Linked DNA regions of Homo sapiens: region 1 is linked to region 2. The links are contacts of gene promoters, found by promoter capture Hi-C in blood cells and fetal thymus (Javierre and others, 2016). All regions are on one chromosome and are shown on one strand. The core of a region is centred on a gene start or on the middle of the fragment in contact, and the rest is flanking DNA. Distances in the headings are between cores, read along the strand shown.

Region 1 (4,427 bases), core at 1,369-3,868, 130 kb after region 2:
AAAAACAACAACAGCAAAATAGTAGAAATCAAATCCTTGATTTTTTTTTTCTTTCCTAGGTAAAAGCAACTTTTCCTTTGTGGTATGGGGTAGATAGGTTCAACTGTTGGGGTAAGCCAAGACAACTTTTGAAGACTTGCTTTGAGCAAACACCATTTGCAGCTAGGTGAATTCCACCAGGAAGTCACTGAGAATCATTGAACTTCTGATTTAAACGGTGCTTAAGAAGTCATCTGGTCTAAACCCCTCTGTCTTTACAAAAACATAAAACTGAAATCAAGAGGTAGGGAATAACTTAATTAATTAAGGTTACATGGCAACTTAGAAACAGACTGAGAATGGGATAGCACCAACGTTTTCTAACGCTTTCCAGTATACCTTTTGGCTTCTTTTTTTTTTCCATTTTATCTGAAGTAGAAAGCCTCTGGCACCAAGCACCATGCAACACATGTAGGCGGGAAAGCAGATACAATGAGTCATAGACTTCTTCTAGGGCCCTATCTTCCCATAGAGTAACTCATATCTGTAGACAACATGGCTGGCTGTGGAGGTTCACAAGTCTTGTCCAGCCACCCTTTCTTCTCTCAGACTCCTGCAGTCTCAATTTTCCTTTCCAGAAGTAAGTTTGGGTTTCATACTACACAAACCATCCCATGATGTCGCTTAATTTTGTGATCCTTGATTATACAAGGATCCCTGACTACACAAACATACGATTTATAGTTGGATGTCCTTTGTCTATTTTCTCATTAAATCTCCCACAGAAGGTAAATAGATAAATGTCTTTTCAACATTAGTTAGTAGGTAGATTCTAAACTTAATCCAAAAGATTTAACTTTCATTTAAAAACCAAGAGGATCTAATCATGTTGACTGAGTTTTCACCCTCCTTACCATCCCTGACAACTGTGGGTTTTTAGAACATATATGATCCCACAAGTCAGCCTACATATGACCTTTCACTTGAATGACCTTCTACTTAAACGTAGGCTAGAGAGAGAAAATCCTTTTAAACACGATTTATATGAGCCTGCAGAGTAATTATTGGGAAGGTATTTTTTGTCTATGTTTATTAAGGTCTAAACGTAATGCCAATATTTTATGGGTACGTTCGTCATTTCTTTGGCTAACGTGGTGAACAAATCATACAGTCTTTTTAAGCTTTCTCCAAACATTGACTAGGTGTGAGATAAATGGGGATCAAGTCACCTGGAATCTTCTCAGGTAAAAACTTTAGCAATAGAAAAAGATTTTTATTTTAATGAGAAGGTCTATTTCAGATCAACTAAATTAGATACTTTGAAAGTGGGGTCTAGTAATTGGTGTTTTAATAACTTCAGGATGTTATGCATGCAAGTTAAAGTCTGAGAACCAGCCGTCTACTCCAATTGGTGGGACTGGAAGGGGGAACTGGGCATATGTAGCACAGTTCTTTCCTGTGCTCTTCTCCCAGGGAGCCAGCCTGCCCGGTTTGTGTGTTCTGCTCTGCTTTCTGCCATGCAGTGGAAGGAGGTCTGTGGCTTTCCATGCTGCACAGTAATCACGTAAAAGCACTGTAAGGAAAATTAACACGCCCACTATCAGAGTAAGACATTTGAAATCTCTCCCCTTAGGAATAAAAACACCAGGCAAATAAATCATAAGTATATATATAAATTATTTGTAGAATAATTAACAAGGTCCACCTACTGGAGGCACATGGAATAAAGATTGATTTCAAGCACAGTGGAATTAAACAAATGCTTGGCCATAAAACAAGTGTCAATACAGTTAATAGAATTAATAATATTAATATAATATAGACCTCTGCTTCTACTAGTGATATAAATAAATTAGAAATAAATAAATGATAAATTTCACATGTCCATATGTTTGATATTTAAAGAAAATACTTCCATACAACTTACTCTCAGAAGTATCATAGGAAAAGTAGAAAACATCTATATCTGAACAATAACAAAAAGTATAATTTCAAAATATTTGGGAAAAAGTGCTTTTTAGAAGTTTATAGCCTTAAATTTAATATTATTTAAAAAGTATAAAATTAATTAACTAAGCATTCAAGTTTAAAAATTAGAAAAATAATGTTAGGGCAAAAAAAGAAAGTGTAAGAAAAAATCTGGGAGCAGAAATTAATACAATAAAAATAAATATATGACAAAAATGATATACTAATAAAAATGTTGGTTCCTAAAAATAAAAATAAACTCCTGACAAGACTAATAAAAAATAAAGGAGAGAGAGGGGCAAAAATAAGAAAGATTAAGAATGAACAATTGGCAGAATTACAGATGCATCAAAGTTTAAAGTTATAATAACATATTACTAATAATATATGCCAGTTAATTAAAATTTTAAATTGGCTGGATTCATTTCTAAAAAATTATAAATTAGAAATATCAACATCAGAATTAATATAAAATCTAAATGATATTAAATTAGAAGTTAAAAAATCACTAGAAAGAAAACATCAGTGGCAGCTTGCTTAATAAGTGAGTTCTATCTAATATTGACGAAAAACATAGTTCCTATTTTTACATTCTTCTGAGAATTAAAACACTGGCAATGCAGCTCAACAGTGCATTTTACAAAGATAGCCTAACAGTGATTCCAAAATAAATAAAACTAGTAATGTGAAAAAATAGATGATAATATCATTCATTAACATATATGCAAAAGTCTTCCTCCAAATATTCCTAAGCTAAATTCAATAATCCCAGTTAAGAACAAAACAAGATTAATTACCAATATTACTTTTATTTAATATTGTACAGAAAAAATATGACTTAGGTCACCAAAATGATAGAGTAGAAGCAACCTGGCTCCACTACCCTCGATCTCATAGAAAATAAAAAACAAACAACAAAATATACACATACAGTGCAGAAATTATCACTAGCAATATCCCAGAACCCAAATAGAAGGATGAGATAGTTTCTGGGGTTGCAGAGAAGTAAAAACGCTGTGCAGAGGGTGATAGAATCGGATTTTTATAAGTATAACGCTTTCCCCCCGATTTGTCATGAACCAGGCATTTGGGAAATTTCCCCTGATTCACAGTTACTACATTGGAAAAGGTAAGTTCAAGATGGACAGCCAGCTTTCTCAACATCTTGGGTTTCCTGGCAGGAGACCTGTTCCTGCCTCAACACACAGAAAGGTGCACAAGTACTTGAATGGAGAAAAATTCCTGAAGAATGACAGAGACAAAGGGGGCAGGTGGGGCTAGCAGCATCCCCAGCCTGGGAAACTCTCTGTATCTTGGCTGAAGGAGTTGCCAAATTAGAGTGTTCAGTAGAACCTCACTGTAGGAGGTATGTTCTGTTAGTCTCTTGGGCACAAAATCCTAGACAGCTTTCCCATTCTGCTGCATTATCCCCTTTGGGACCTCCCCCATCCTGGACAGGCAGCACTCTGAACACCTGCTAAAACAGAGGTAAACCTGGACTTAGTTGCCACTTAGTGCTGAAAAGGAGGCAGTGACCTACAAAAAAAAAAAAAAGGTAAGTTGTAAAGAAAACGCTAAGCAAACATATCCAATAAAAACAAAAATATATCAGATAAAGGAGACTGGAATAAATAATTTTTCAATTTAAAGACAAATGTACATACACAAACAGAAAATCATGAGCTCCCCAAATTGACAAAGCAAGGAACCAGTAACCAACACTAATAAGACAGCAATAGGGAAGTTCCCTGATTAAGAATAAAGAGAAGTTTTAATAAAACTCAAAGATATTCAAAATAATACAAAAAAGCAATTTAGAAATGTATCAGAAAATTTTAACAAAGAAATTGAAATAGTGAGAAACAAATCAAATAGGAACCCTGGAAATTAGAAGTATATTTGCTAAACTGTAAAATTCTTTAGAGGCTCTCAACAGCGGAATGGATCAGGCAGAGGAAAGAACCAGTGAGCTCAATGACAGGGTGTTGGAAAATACACAGTCAGAGAAGAAAAAAGAATGAAACTAAATGAAGGAAGCCTACAAGACATAGAAAATTACCTCAGAGGAGCAAATCTAAAAAACTGAAGTTCAAGAGGGAGCTGAGCATGAGCAAAGAATAGAAAGCTTAACAAAAAGATAACTGATGTACTTTTAAGGTACCAAATAAGACCCCTCCAGGTTGCCCATGATTATGGAAAACTCTGAAGCATACTAGGTCCTTGAGCTGTCCCTTTGACTCTAAGTACTTTCCAAGAAGCCCCTTTTACATCCTTGTTCCTGAGGCTGGAGATGATGGGTTTTATGAAGGCAGAGACAATGCTGTAGAACAGCACCAACTGTTTTCCCACTGTAGGTTATACTAGGAGTCAGACCTCAAGTACGTGATCATGGCGGGCCCTTAGAACATGGTGACCACACTTTTACTTTTTTTCCATGATGGCAGGTTGAAGGCATTGTTAACGTGATTCTACCACTTAGA
Region 2 (2,500 bases), core at 1-2,500:
GCAGGAAGTAATCTTAAAATGAATAAAAAACTGCCTTTCACATCTGGTATAGAATGATGCTAATGTAAAAGTTAAACATACTTATGAAAATATTGACACATTTGAATTATTTGAATTATTTGAATAATTGTGTTTGCAAAATGGATACATTTTCTACTATGTGTTTGCACTTGTAGAATAATATTATTTACAAAATGTTCTCACATATGTTTTTGTGTGAGAACATGTTTTGTAAAATTGAGATACCGTAAAATACAGCTGTATGTCTAGATGTGTTTTTTACTTAATATTATTTCCTGATACTTTGTGCACATCATTATCTTGTCTTATTTTATCTTCTACTTTCATTTTAGGTTCAGAGGGTACATGTGCAGGCTTGTTAAATGAGTAAACTGTGTGTCGCTGAGGCTTGTTGTCTGGTGATCCCATCACCAAGGTAGCGACATAGTACCAGATAGATAGCCTTCCAACCCACATACTGCTCCCACCTTTCCTCTCAAGCAGTCCCCAGCGTCTACCGTTCCCATCTTGTGCCCATATGGATTCAATGTTTAACTTCCACTTATAAGTGAGAACATGCAGTATTTGGTATTCCTGTGTTAGTTCACTTAGGGTAATGTTCTCTAGCCGTATCCATGTTATGCATATACAGCGTGGAATACTATGCATCCATAAAAAAGAATGAAATCATTATCTTGTCTTTTGCCCAGACCCCAATGGCCACCAAGCTTTCTAACCTCAGAGAATATATACTCAGAGAATTTGTTTTAAAATCTGCAATGGTCAAAATGCATATTCCTTCATTCATGCCCCAGTTGTAGAATAAAGGATATCTACTATCTTTGAAGTAAGTAAAGAATTGGAAGTATTAACTGCAGTTTTCACTTTTCTGAATATAGTTGATACCAGCCCTACTGCCCTCACCCCACTGCCCTGAAGAACCAATATCGATTTTTCCCTTGTGATTTTGTGGCTTTCAAGGAAGCATCTAGATCTTTTCTATAAAAAATACCCACAGTACTCACCTTACTGGGAATTTCTTCAACAGTAGTCCAGATCTTGAGATCTTCAGAAATGTAGGAAATGAGGATTGTTTTGAATAGGGAAATCAGTCAGTAAAGCTCTCAGAAACTGAAATACAGGATGTTATAATCTCCTGAAATGCTAAGAAAATGAAGTATTTTCAAAGACAACAAGGGAAAATGGCCCTTCTTAGAGTCACTTGACTAGTGCTGGCTTCCTCATACTCTGCTTTGCCCTGGGGAGAGAGAAGTTGTGAAACAACGTGCAGACTCCTCCCACCCATATTTTTTGCTTTCCATCCTGTTAGAGAAAATGAACAGTTTCTTTCCTGTAGGTATCTTAATCAAAGTAAAATTTGTATCAAAGTTATATTTAAAATTTTTTTTCTTACAAATGTTGATATCTGAATGGAGTTCCAATCTTAGAACTTTCTTAACCAGCAGACTTACATGTGGGACATTAGGGACCTCTATTCCGATGAATGATTGTCAAATATGAGAGAAGCAAGGTGGTTTCTTCTCCCTCCTTTCCTGTGCGGTTGCAGGGGGAGATCTTGGTAGGAGCATCTATTGCTACCAGTACTTTACTGCATCTCCTGCATGGGAGAATGTCTGCTATGAAATAGCAGTTGGTTTAAATACTACCTGAAGCATTCACCCAGTTATTAATAGTTGACAAACCTAGGGCTTTCCAGATCAGAAAGTTATTATGAATATATAAATCCTTTCTCAAATATATATAAAGGAGTTTAACACTAGCTGTCCTCTTGACTATGACTAGGTTATTTTACCTCAATGATTACATTCATGATTCCTCAGGTTTCCTTCATTATTCATGGAAAAACACAAGTGGATAGTGGGCTCACAACATGACAGCATCGAAGCCTTGAAAATCCTGGAAAATGCACTGAACTTCTGGTAGACCGAGAGTCCTGTTAAACCCTTTGCTCAGCAGTATTTTTTCTGTTAAGGGCAGTGGGTGTCCTTCAGAGTACTAAAACCCCAAGATGTCAAATAAACGACACCAACTGGCAGATGATGTTGTGTTAACCCAGCAGCAGATCTGCAAGCAGGATGTGGCCATGAGTGGAAAATGGGGCCCGAAATACAGCTGTAGGGGAGAAAACAAGTTTTTTTTAAATTTCCCTTTTTAGGTTATTAGTTGACACTCTCCTGAAAACAAACGTCAAATTAACAAAAGAAAAACAAGCAGTTTATTAATGTGTGCTCTACTCATCACAAGGGATAGGCCTCAGTTCAAAAGTATTTCTCTCTCCAGGCTGTGGCTTAGAAACCTTGTTTAAATAGTATTTCAATAAAGAGCCATACGTTCTATATAGTGAAAAGCAAAGGAGAAAGCAGTTCCAGTCATTTAAAAGGTGGGAAAACGTGGGAAGGTAGTAAAATCTGTTCCCAGATTCCTCAGGTTCCTGGTGGCGCCTTCTCCGGGCTGAAAAGCAAGTGCTTTCTCCAGTAAA

What was found. Contacts are between HindIII fragments. The CHiCAGO score rates a contact against its expected background, and 5 or more counts as called.
Region 1: a contact is called between a fragment that was not itself captured here and the fragment with the promoter of PYHIN1 in region 2, in 2 of 17 cell types (non-activated CD4 T cells and total CD8 T cells). The highest score is 5.9, in non-activated CD4 T cells.

What each region holds. Positions count from the first base shown.
Region 1 is chr1:158,795,954-158,800,380 of GRCh38, reverse strand. It overlaps a transcript of OR6N1 not described here and the pseudogene OR2AQ1P. Among named protein-coding and RNA genes, the nearest start is that of OR6N2, 17 kb to the right of the region's middle. The HindIII fragment of the contact is 2,912 bases long and covers 1,163-4,074 here.
Region 2 is chr1:158,930,302-158,932,801 of GRCh38, reverse strand. It overlaps PYHIN1 (pyrin and HIN domain family member 1), which reads right to left and starts at 1,250. Exons shown (of 9, transcript NM_152501.5): 1 at 1,026-1,250. The HindIII fragment of the contact is 3,309 bases long and covers 731-2,500 here.